Linked DNA regions of Homo sapiens: region 2 is linked to region 1. Evidence: promoter capture Hi-C in 16 types of primary human blood cells and fetal thymus (Javierre and others, 2016). All regions are on one chromosome and are shown on one strand. The core of a region is centred on a gene start or on the middle of the fragment in contact, and the rest is flanking DNA. Distances in the headings are between cores, read along the strand shown.

Region 1 (6,096 bases), core at 1,101-3,600:
GAGAAGAGTTGCTGGCCCCCAAATCATCAGACTCCCATGGAAGAATTTTGTATTATACAAGAAGACCCAGATGAATTATTGTTTAAGTAGAGCATTTCCTTTTATTAATATAAATTAAAACAAATGTTTACATCCAAATATGTTTGTATGTACCTTATTTTAACTCACAAGTTATTAACCTCTGTTTTTCTGAGTTGCCTTTTTGCCTTTGGGTGCTGGTGCCGGGGCCGGGGCCGGGCCAGGACCTCCTGACTGTGGGTTGGTCTGCCCTTCCAGGGTCCAGGGCCAGCTGTCACAGTGGCAGCTAGGAAGGTAGCTCCTCTCTAGTCCAGAGGGCTGGTGTTGTCTGCACAGCCGTTCTGGTGGGCATTCTAGGGGGGAGGAGAGCAGCGAAAGAGCCAAGAGCAGTGGTCAGCCTCTTGTGTACACCTCTGACACGTGCACTCCAGTGCTTCCTATGCTGTTTCTGGCACCTGATCAAGCCACTGAACCTGCTCTAGCTGCTGGAGGTTTTTGCTCTGTGACCCTGGCTGTTTAGACCTGCCCATGTTCATCAGCCCAGGTCCCCGCCCTCACCCACTCCCATCTTCTGCTCCTGCAGTATCCCAGGAAGGGGTCTTTACTCCGTTCTGGAGACTGTCCCTTTATCCAGCTGCCTTCCAGTCTTCCCCTTTCTTTATTTTTAACATGATCAACCCCTTCCCTTCAGCCCCATAACAGCAGTATAAAAACACTCCCAGCCATGTTCAGACATGCTCTGCCTACGTAGATGAGGATAATGAGGCCTAGGTGATCATGGGGTGGGCTTGTTTCTTGCATTTAACATTATATTTGGAGCATTTTCCCATTAATATTTTTCCCACAACATAATTTATAATTGCTCTATTTTTTAAATATACATCAAAAGCTTTATACAATTTTTAGCCACTTGTATTTTCCAATTTTTATTCCCATGATGGCCATCCCTGTAACTAAATTTATATATATTTTAAATCAATGATAACTGCTACAGGACAGTTTCCTAGAATTGGAATGAATGAGTCAAAAGTTGTGCACAATTTTAGGGTTTTTTTTTCTTTTTTTTCGAGACAGGGTCTTGCTCTGTCTCTCAGGCTGGAGTGCAGTGGTAAGGGCATAGCTCACTGCAGCCTCGACCTCTCAGGCTTAAGTGATCCTCCTGCCTCAGCCTCCTGAGTAGCTGGGACTACAGGTGCAAGCCACCACGCCCTCTAGAGAAGCTTTGCTTTGGAATCTTTACCTGGAGTGTGTTGGAGTGCTTGTTTCCCAATCCCTTGATAAGTGTTACTTATTTTTTCTTTCTACCAGTTTAGTAGGTGAAAAACTTTTTTTTTTTTTTGAGACAGAGTCTCGCTGTATTGCTCAGGCTGGAGTGCAGTGGTGCAACCTCCGCCTCCTGGGTTCAAGCAATTCTCCTGCCTCAGCCTCCTGAGTAGCTGGGGCTACAGGCTTGTGCCACCACCCCCAGCTGTTTCGGTGTTTTTTTTTGTTTGTTTGTTTGTTTGTTTTTTTGAGACGGAGTCTGTTGCCCAGGCTGGAGTGCAGTGGCGCGATCTCGGCTCACTGCAACCTCTGCCTCCTGGGTTCAAACGATTCTCCTGCCTCAGCCTCCCGAGTAGCTGGGATTACAGGCGCACGCCACCACGCCCGGCTAATTTTTGTATTTTTAGTAGAGATGGGGGTTTCACCATGTTAGTCAGGCTGGTTTCAGAACTCCTGACCTCGTGATCCACCCGCCTCGGCCTCCCAAAGTGCTGGGATTACAGGCGTAAGCCACCGCGCCCGGCAGGTGAAAATCTTACCATTTTGCATGGTTTACATTTTTTTCTTTTTTGAGACGGAGTCTTGCTCTGTTACCCAGCCTGGAGTGAAGTGGTGCGATCTTGGTTCACTGCAACCTCCACCTCCAGGGTTCAAGCGATTCTTTTATGGTTTACATTTTAATACGCTTATTGATCATATTGTCCAATTTTTTGTGAGTTTCCTGTTCACATCCTTTGCCTATATTTTTTTGGGGGTGACACTTGTTAATTTGTAAGAGCTCTTTACGTATAGGGACATCAGTTTTCTAACCTGTAAGGAAGTCTTGGCTGGGAGTTGAAACCCCAGGCTAGAAGGCGACCCTTAGACTTTTTAGGTCTGATGGCGGGCCTATGCTGGTGTGGGAATAACACCGCCGGTCTCAGCTGGAGGTCGCCAGCCCTTTGCAAGAGCCTGCCGGTCCCCGCGGGCTGCAGCACACCCCGGCGCGATGTGCCCTGCCTGTGTCTGCCGGAGGCTGTAGTGCGCAGGAGCGGAAACCAGGCCGCCCTTCCCCCACCCGCTTCCGGCCGCGGCTCGGTTCTCCCGCCTCCGCCTCCGCCGCGGCTCGTGGTTGTCCCGCCATGGCACTGTCGCGGGGGCTGCCCCGGGAGCTGGCTGAGGCGGTGGCCGGGGGCCGGGTGCTGGTGGTGGGGGCGGGCGGCATCGGCTGCGAGCTCCTCAAGAATCTCGTGCTCACCGGTTTCTCCCACATCGACCTGGTGAGGGCCGGGCGCGCGCGCGTGAATGGCGGGCTGTGGTGCGGGGGCTGGGATTCGGGGGTTCCGGGGCTCCAGGGGCTCTGAGGCTCAGGGCCCGGAGCCCGGGACCGGAGTTGCGGAGCGGGGGCAGGCTGAGAGGCTCGGGTTGTGCCCCCCCCGCGGGAGGAGACTGTTCTTTGGGCACGGGGCGGGCCTCCGCTCGCTGGGCCGGCTCCGGACGCCGAGGAGGCCGCGGGCCCCCGCCTCCCCGGCAGCGCCAATGTGTGGCGCTTCGTGGGCGTGAAGCCGCCTCTTATCCTCCCTTCAAAACAAATTCCCGGCTGTTAGGAGATGCGGGAGAGGATTGAGTCCCTCGCGGATGTTGTGACTTTAATTTTGAGGTCCCTGTCGTAACTCCGAAGTAACGACGCGGGGCGGAGGATGGCAATGATAGCGACCAACGCGTCCCGAGCGCTGGTCACGAGCGGGTTTACACACGGAACGCGCACCATCTTCATACCACCCGAGGAGTGCAAACGCTATTTCCACCCTGCTTTATTTTTAACAGATGAGGAAAGGGAGACGCAATGGGGTTGAGTAACTTACCCTGGGTCACGGAGCGAGTGGCAGGGCTCCCGCAGGCTGCGTGACTGTCATTGCTCTCACAGTAGACGGTACACTCGCTTGTTTCATTAAAGACGTTAGGACTGTGCCTTTTGCATTGGTGTACGTTGACAAGCCAGTGCTATTTTGAATCGTTATTTCTACTAATGCAAACTTTTTAGAGATTGGAGATGTTACTGGCCCTTCGGTGTGAGTTTAAAGTGTCTTAAGGGCTAGTGGAAACATGGAATGAACAAAAAAGTACGGGTGGCCGACTGAGTCATTGTTTCTTTCCTTTATGTATTATATATTTAAGCAAAAATTAGATAAAACTTAAAACATGATACTTTTTTAACCATGTGTAAAAGTTTCCTTTCACAGTTCTCAGGTTAATAGTAAATGAAATTGTGTATGGATGAAGGCTTGAATTAAGGGAGGCAGCAAAAATTCAATAAACGTTTGCCATGTATCATTTAAGAAAAAGAACAGAACCTGGGCAACATAGAGAAACCCCGTCTCTACAAAAAAAGAAAATTAGCGGGGCGTGGTGGTGTGCGCCTGTGGTCCCAGCTACCCGGGAGGCTGTGTCAGGAGGATCGCTTGAGCCTGGGAGGTCGAGGCTGCAGTGAGCTGTGTTTGCACCACTGCACTCCAGCCTGGGCAACAGAGGGAGACCCTGTCTCAAAAAACAAAGAAAAAGAACAGGGCATAGTTAAATTTAATATTTTGTACTTGAAAGAGTAATTCGATTGAAAGAGAAATACTTTAGTATTTTTTGAGACAGGGTCTGGCCCTGTCACCCTGGCTAGAGTGCAGTGGCCCGATCTCGGCTCACTGCAACCTCCGCCTCCCAGGCTCCAGTGATCCTCCACCTCAGCCTCCCGAGTAGCTGTGACTACAGGCATGTGCCACCTAATTTTATTTTTTCTATTTCTTGTAGCCACCAGGGTCTCACTATTTTGCTTAGGCTGGTCTTGAAGGTCTGGGCTCAAGCGATTCTCTCACTTTGTCCTCCCAAAGTGTTGGGATTACAGGTATGAGCCACCACTCCCGGTGTAGAGAAATATGTTAATATATTTTCAGTTAGTGTTTACCTCGACAGCACATATAGTTTTAATGAATTCACATATTTTTATGGCATCCAGGGAGTTTCCTGAAATATTTTCCAGGATGATTAAACAAACAAAATATACCATTCTTTCAAAGTATTTTTGAGAAGTTTATCTCTGACATTAAATCTAGATTCTTACATGCATTAAATTATTCTTTATCAGTTTAACAATTTTGGTATGGCGATTCGAAAAACGCTTTCTCCACTAATGTAGCAGATATCAAAAGTTCTGGATTACAGGTGCTGAGAGTAGTGATACAGCTCAAACATACGTAAACGTTTGTCATTTATCTGGGGTTTATGCATTTGTAGATTGATCTGGATACTATTGATGTAAGCAACCTCAACAGACAGTTTTTGTTTCAAAAGAAACATGTTGGAAGATCAAAGGCACAGGTAACTATATTTCTCATACCATTTCTATAACTTGATGGAGCTTCTATTTGTGATACCAGATTAATCCTGCCTGTCATATAGGAGGGAAAAAATGGGTGAAGCTCTCATTTCAGCTGAGAGATTGTGAAGGATAAAGATATATCAAGTAAAGGACTAAAGATTAAGCCCTCCTTTTTTGTTCTAAAAAGGAAATAATCCCGTGATGGTGTAACTTTCATGGCCTCTTTATATTTAAGTTTCTGATGCTTTGCTTAGGATGCACCTTGTGTTCCTACACCCCCTAGAGGTTGACTACTGCTATGTTTGGGGGCTAGAGGAGCGTTATGCTGCTGTCCTAGTTGAAACAAGACAGTTCCCCCGATCTTTGTTTAGTTTTTTTAGTGTTCCTTGGTGATTCAGAGTCTTAAAACATCTTTTCCCTTTGCCTGTCTCCCAACCTGTTTGGCAAACCCCCACTTGTTTCTCTTTTTCTTTCATATTTTGGCTTCCTCCTCCAGGAGTACTTTCCTAAACCTTTTAGACTAAGTCAGGTTGGTTTTTCTCTCATAACAACCTTTACTTTACTTTTCCTATCATTTTCTTTTCTTTTTTTTTTTTTTTTTTTTTTTTAGAGATAGGGTCTCACTCTGTCGCCCCAGGCTGGAGTGGAGTGATGCGGTCATGGCTTACTGCAGCCTAGAACTCCTGGCCTCAAGGGATCCTCCTACACTGGCCTCCCAAGTGCTGGGATTACAGGCATGAGCCACCATGCCTGGCCTTTTCCTGTCATTCTCATGGCATTTATCAGAGTCTGTAGTTGAACTTAATCTGGATTGTTATTTGATTAATGTCTCTCTTGCTTGACATGTACGTTGTATAGTTCCTGGTACATGCAAGATGCTCAGTAAATACTTGTTAAGTGAATGAATGAATGACACTTGGTTACTTCATGTTGTATTTTTGCTGAAGCTTGCCATTCATGTAGAAGTGTGTTTGGTGGTACGTGGGTCAGGGGGGGCTCTCCGGTTATTTTATAAGTATAAAAGTATAATTTTATAAGTGTAGCTTAACCCTAATGCAATTTTCTCACATTTTTGGACTTCTTTGGTGTTTAATATAAATAAGGTACTATGTAAGTAGATAACAGCATTGTGGCTTCCAGAAGCAGATTTCAGATAGGAACAGAAATATTGTAGTAATTCAGTGTTGTTTATTTTTCCAGGTTGCCAAGGAAAGTGTACTGCAGTTTTACCCGAAAGCTAATATCGTTGCCTACCATGACAGCATCATGAAGTATGCTATAGTGATTACATTGCAAAGTTGTATAAGGGTTTTGTAAGCCAAATATATAAGCTCAAAGTCATTCAGCTTTTTTAAAAAAAATGATTTTTCTAGAATTATTAAACAGTGGTGGTTTCTGCTTACAGAGTGGCATTCTTTTTACCAGTTCATAAATACATGGTTTGAATGATTTAGAATGGTGAGATA
Region 2 (6,414 bases), core at 1,644-4,143, 86 kb before region 1:
CAGCTATGCCCTGTGCCCAGCACCTTAGTGTGTTCACCAGCGTGGAAGCTCTCAGAACCCGATGGTCTGATGATTTTTATGGAGGCTTCATCATATAAGCAAGTCATCTTATTAGAACAAAAGACACTATCACCTAGGAAATCTCAAGGGTTTTAGGAGCTCTGTATCAGGAACTGGAGGCAGAGACCAAATATATATTCTGATATCATGAGACCTCAGACCTTTTTGCTTCCTACTCCTCTTGTGGGGCAGTGAGTTCCAGGATCAGCCCTGTTGTTCTCTCCATGTTCTTACAGTTACTGAATTTTTGCTGGGCGCCAGAGGTACATAAAAGTTGTAGCCTTTTCTATGAGACCTGCTTGAGACACCTTTGCAGAGAAATGCAGCCAAGACTAATGCAGCCTAATCTATGCCTAGGTGCCTGAAAGAAGACCCTGCTACCATGTCCCTGCTGCAGAGAAGCCTTGATCCTGAGAAGACCCTGGGTCTAGTGGACGTGCTCTACACAGCTGTGCTGGACCTAAACCGCTGGAGGGCTGGAAGGTTGGTGTCTGTGGTTTGCATTAGATGCATACCGAGGGACAGTGTGACTATGCACAGTTTCATGTGTGCTTGTGTCATTGATAGTATACGGTATTGTAAAGAAGGCAGTAAGGACTTTTTAGTAACTTTTATTTTCAGAATAATTTAAAACCTGCAGCAAAGTGGCAAGAATAATACAAAGAACTGCTCCATGCCCTGTACCAGATTCCCCTATTTGCTAACTTTTTTGCCTTCCTTTATTTTGTCATTTGAGAGGAAGTCCATCAAGAGGACTTTTAACTCAACTCATATTCTCCTTATGAATTAAGAACAGAGAAATGTTTAGAAAATTTGCTTATGTCTTTTAGAATTTTTTTTCTTTTTCAATCAGTTCTCTCAGGTTGAACTTGAGAAATGTGTATACATCTGGTAGTGGCCTTAAACATCTAGCCATGGCCCCTCTCCCTTTTTCTTTTCTTTTCTTTTCTTTTCTTTTCTTTTCTGTCTTGGTCTTTGTCTTTGGTCTTGTCATCTTGTCTTTTTAGGATCTGGCTCTGTTGCCCAGCCAGGCTGGAGTGTAGTGGTACAATCTCAGCTCACTGCAATATTGCTCTCCATCCATGCTATCCATCCCATCCATCCCCCAGCTCCTGGGCTCAAGTCATCCTCCTACCTCAGCCTTCCGAGTAGCTGGGATTACAGGTGTACGCCCAGCTAATTTTTGTATTTTTCATGAAGATGGGGTTTCGCTGTGTTGGCCAGGCTGGTATCAAACTCCTGACCTCAAGTGCCTGCCTCGGCCTCCCAAAGTGCTGGGATTACAGGCGTGAGCCACCATGCCCAACCTTTTCTCCCTTTCTTAACTCATGAGTACACAAAGGCCAGAATAGTGAAGTGACTTTTCCAGGGTCACACAGCCTTCACCTGCCTCAGCTCCTGCCCCATGCCCTTTCGCTCTTTAGGGCTCCATTTTAGTATGGGAAAAATGTGCTCAGGAAACTTTGAAAGTCACAGCCATCTGTTGGGACAACGTTGGCACATAGTATCCCTGCATCCCCCCACCACCTCCCTCTGCTTTGTGGAGTTGTCCATTGTCCCTCTGCTGCATTTGCGTGGCTGTAGCCCCTGTCCTCCAGGCACAAATCTAGCTTCTGCAAGTTGCATCCCCACATCTAGCCATGCTTTCCCCTCCTGTGCCACCATTAGAGGATTTCACTGAATCACACTCCTCAGGCCAGAATCCTAGCAGAACTTCCAGTCCTGCGTTAGACACTGTAGATTTCATACTCTCCAAACCCCTGGGTGTTCATTTATATATAAAATAAGTGAACCCGATACCAACCTGAGAGGTTTTTCTTGCTCTCAACGCCATTCTTAAATACAAAGAGGTCCATTTTATTATTTTATATATTTGTCTTTTTTTTTTTTAAACAAATTTCTGTTTAAATAGGGAGCAAGCTTTACCCTGCATACAGATCCAGCTGCAAAGGGAGATCTGTGATTTTGGCAACCAGGCTGACCTGCCTTCTGGAAATGGAAACAAATCTTCAGGTGGCCTGCAGAAGACATTCTCCAAACTGACATCCCGGTTCACCAAGAAAGCTTCATGTACCAGCTCCAGCAGCAGCACAAATTATTCCATCCAAAATACCCCTTCCAAAAACATCTTCATAGCTGGATGTTCCGAAGAGAAGGCCAAAATGCCTGGCAATATTGATACAAGGTTACAAAGCATTTTGAACATTGGTAATTTCCCCAGGACTACAGACCCTTCACAGTCAGCTCAGAATTCCAGTAATACAGTGGCCAATGGCTTTCTCATGGAGAGGCGTGAGAACTTCCTGCATGGAGATGACGGCAAGGATGAGAAGGGTATGAACTTACCAACTGATCAGGAAATGCAAGAGGTGATAGATTTTCTCTCGGGCTTTAACATGGGCCAGTCACATCAGGGCTCTCCGTTGGTGACAAGGCATAATTCTGCTGCCACAGCCATGGTGACTGAGCAGAAGGCAGGAGCCATGCAACCACAGCAGCCGTCACTGCCTGTGCCCCCTCCACCACGGGCACCCCAGGCTGGGGCACACACACCTCTGACACCCCAGCCGGGACTGGCACCTCAGCAGCAGTCCCCAAAGCAGCAACAACCTCAAGTCCAATACTACCAACACCTACTCCAGCCCATTGGACCGCAGCAGCCCCCGCCCCAGCCTCGGGCACCTGGGAAATGGGTACATGGCTCATCCCAGCAGCCAGCGCAGGCTGTTGGAGCAGGTCTGTCTCCTCTTGGTCAGTGGCCTGGCATATCTGATCTCAGTTCTGACTTGTACAGCTTGGGTCTGGTGAGCAGCTATATGGATAATGTGATGTCAGAGGTTCTGGGACAGAAGCCGCAGGGACCTAGAAATAACACCTGGCCCAACCGTGACCAAAGTGATGGAGTCTTTGGAATGCTGGGAGAGATTCTGCCTTTTGATCCTGCAGGTATGTGAGGCCTCCCATCCCTCGCCCAGTGTCAACAGCAAATGCAACTGCCGAGGTCTTCCCAGGGCCTGTCTGCTGCAGCCTTACTTGTGAAGGTGAAATCATTTAATCCCCCTTTACGACCCTTTCTCACTGTGGAGGCAAGTATGGGGCAGATCTACCAAGATGGGAAACAGTGGTGAGAAAGGGGCTGAGAACATGAGTGGACTATTTTTCTTACTTTATAGAGAACAGAACTGAGGCTAAGAGAGGTTACTTGAACAGCTCAAAGTCCCATAGTTCAAGTAGGCTCCAGTCTAGGCCTGCCTACTCCCGGCAGCCAAGGTCAGCAGCCCTTTGTGGGGTGCTTTTTTCCTGATTATATAACCTGTTCTTTGCGATGCTTTTTTTTTTTGCCTAAACTCTAGGACCTATGACAGGTGACAGACACCCTCCTGCCTTCATAGAATACAGCTTCTCCTGGGCTAGACAATGAAAATACCACCAGAGTCATCTTAAAAAATTAGAGAAGGAATTTACAAACAAGAACAAACTAGGAGGAGGAATTAAGGGGGAAAAGCCAAAAATAAGTAAATTAGAAAGAAAAATAGAGTAGAAATTGCAAATAACTCTAAAGGATCTTTGGAAGACCAATAAAATGTATAAGCCAATTTATTCTAAGCTTGATTAAGGGAGAACAAAGAGAAACAAAATTAGGAAATAGAAAGGATACATTAAAAGCGCTTTAGTGGCTCATGCCTGTAATCCCAGTACTTTGAGAGGCTAAGGCTGGAGGATCACTTGAGGCCAGGAGTTCGAGACCAGCCTGGTCAACATCACAAAACCCTCATCTCTACTAAAAATTAAACAAAATTAGCTGGGTGTGGTGGTGCTTAGGAAGCTGAGGCGGTAGGATCCCTTGACCCCAGGATTTTGAGGCTGCAGTGAGCTATGATCATGCCACTACACCCCAGCCTGGCTGACAGAGAGAAACCCTGTCTCAAAAAAAAGCCACTTTAAGACAGTACCATCTAAGACTTAATAGCAATACATTTGGAAATTCAGCAGAAAATGGATTCTTTCCTAGCAAAATAGGCATTACAAAATTATACCAAGAAGTGGAAAACCTGGCCAGGCATGATGTCTCATGCCTGTAATTTCCAGCACTTTGGAAGGCTGAGGTAGGCAGATTGCCTGAGGCCAGGAGTTCAAGACCAGTTTGGCCAACATAGTGAAACCCCCATCTCTACAAAAAATAAAAAATTAGCTGGGTGTGGTGGCACATGCCTGTAGTCCCAGCTCCTTGGGAGGCTGAGGTGGGAAGATCGCTTGAGCTCAGGAGGTTGAGGCTGCAGTGAGCCATGATCACACCACAGCAGCCCAGCCTGGGCAACAAAGTAAGACTCTGTCTCTAAAAAATAAGTAAATACATAAAAAATAAAAAAGACTATCTACTAAAAGCTAATAGCAAATAGTGCCTTATATAATGAAACAAAAATCATTTCAGTTAATATCAGGAATCAGACAAGGGCGACTGTTATCACCTGTAGCATGTAACTTTGTCTTGGACTTCACAGCAAATGCAGCAAGACAAAAAGCAATAAAATAAGTGGTCTAAGCTTTGGAAAATGATAAATTAAGCAGCACATCTTTTTGCTGATAATAGAATTGAACCCCCCCCACAAAAAAAACCATCTAAAATTAGTAAGAGAATTTGGTAACATAGGTACATGCAAACTTTTTTCTCTAATTTAGCAAAAGGCATACACAGAAGTAGAAAATGTATTTCATTCACAGGGGAGTACTGTGAAATGTTACAAATAAGTATAGCAAATACTTGTACAAGTAAATCACCACCATAAGAGGACACTCCAGGCCGGGCGCTGTGGCTCACGCCTGTAATCCCAGCACTTTGGGAGGCCGAGGCGGGCGGATCACGAGGTCAGGAGATCGAGACCATCCCGGCTAAAACGGTGAAACCCCGTCTCTACTAAAAATACAAAAAAATTAGCCGGGCGTAGTGGCGGGCGCCTGTAGTCCCAGCTACTTGGGAGGCTGAGGCAGGAGAATGGCGTGAACCCGGGAGGCGGAGCTTGCAGTGAGCCGAGATCCCGCCACTGCACTCCAGCCTGGGCGACAGAGCGAGACTCCGTCTCAAAAAAAAAAAAAAAAGAGGACACTCCTTGCTGAAACACCCAGCATTTGTTACAGGAGGGAAGTTAATGCTGGGGTTAACACTCCTTTCTCTTTTTTTTTGAGACAGAGTCTCACGTTGTTGCCCAGGCTGGAGCGCAGTGGCGCGATCCCCACTTACTTGCAACCTCTGCCTCCTGGGCTCAAATGATTCTCCTGCCTCAGCTTCCTGAGTAGCTGGGACTACAGGTGCCTGCCACCACACCCAGCTAATTTTTTTTTTTTTTTATACGGAGTCTCGCTCTACCGCCCCGAGGCTGGAGTGCAGTGGCGCGATCTCGGCTCACCGCAAGCTCCGCCTCCCGAGTTCACGCCATTCTCCTGCCTCAGCCTCCTGAGTAGCTAGGACTACAGGCGCACGCTACCATGCCCAACTAATTTTTTGTATTTTTCATAGAGACGGGGTTTCACTGTGTTAGGCAGGATGGTCTCTATCTCCTGACCTCGTGATCCGCCCACCTCGGCCTCCCAAAGTGCTGGGATTACAGGCATGAGCCACCGCGCCCATAGAGATGGGGTTTTGCCATGTTGGCCAGGCTGGTCTTGACCTCCTGACCTCAGGTGATCCACCCACCTCAGCCTCCTAAAGTGCTGGGATTACAGGCATGAGCCACTGCATCTGACCATTGCTCATGTCTTCTGAAAATTCTTCATGCCGCTGCTCTTGCTGTTTTGTGCTTGCTCCCCTTGGGTGGATGGATGTAGGAAACCCTTGTGCCTGCAACCCTGGGCCACAAGAAGGGTAAACACCTCCATCCTGCTAAGAAACAGCAAGCCCACTGGCTGCCACCCACTGGTGTGGGCACAGTGCGTTTTCTCAGTTGATCATAGATGGTGTGTACATTTTTTGACTGTCATATAACTAAATCCAGAGTATAAACAGTATTTGTCAGAATTGTGTCATATTTGAGGCCGGGTGCAGTGGCTCATGCCTGTAGTCTCAGCACTTTGAGAGGCTGAGGCCAGCGGATTGCTTGAGGCCAGGAGTTCAAGACCAGCCTGGCCAACATGGCGAAACCCCGTCTCTACCAAAAATACAAAAAAATTAGCCAGGTGTGGTGGCACACACCTGTAGTCCCAACCACTTGGGAGGCTGAGGCACGAGAATTACTTGAACCCAGGAGGCAGAGGTTGCAGTGAGCTGAGATCACGCCACTGCACTCCGGCTTGGATAACAGAGTGAGACTTTGTCTAAAAAAAGATTTATTTTTAATAAATGAATAAGAATGTTATCAT

The links. Contacts are between HindIII fragments. The CHiCAGO score rates a contact against its expected background, and 5 or more counts as called.
Region 2: a contact is called between a fragment that was not itself captured here and the fragment with the promoter of UBA2 in region 1, in 2 of 17 cell types (naive CD4 T cells and total CD8 T cells). The highest score is 6.8, in naive CD4 T cells.

The regions. Positions count from the first base shown.
Region 1 is chr19:34,426,031-34,432,126 of GRCh38, forward strand. UBA2 (ubiquitin like modifier activating enzyme 2) reads left to right here and starts at 2,351. Exons shown (of 17, transcript NM_005499.3): 1 at 2,351-2,540; 2 at 4,546-4,629; 3 at 5,831-5,901. The coding sequence starts at 2,403. LOC124904695 (a long non-coding RNA gene) reads right to left here and starts at 2,334. Exons shown (of 2, transcript XR_007067232.1): 1 at 2,092-2,334; 2 at 76-371. It overlaps PDCD2L (programmed cell death 2 like), which reads left to right. Exons shown (of 7, transcript NM_032346.2): 7 at 1-138. The coding sequence ends at 90. RefSeq lists silencers at 2,239-2,478, 2,509-2,618, 2,689-2,848. The HindIII fragment of the contact is 4,339 bases long and covers 1,237-5,575 here.
Region 2 is chr19:34,339,450-34,345,863 of GRCh38, forward strand. GARRE1 (granule associated Rac and RHOG effector 1) reads left to right here. Exons shown (of 14, transcript NM_014686.5): 9 at 418-543; 10 at 1,973-3,006. Among named protein-coding and RNA genes, the nearest start is that of GPI, 23 kb to the right of the region's middle. RefSeq lists an enhancer at 2,697-3,197. The HindIII fragment of the contact is 1,543 bases long and covers 2,123-3,665 here.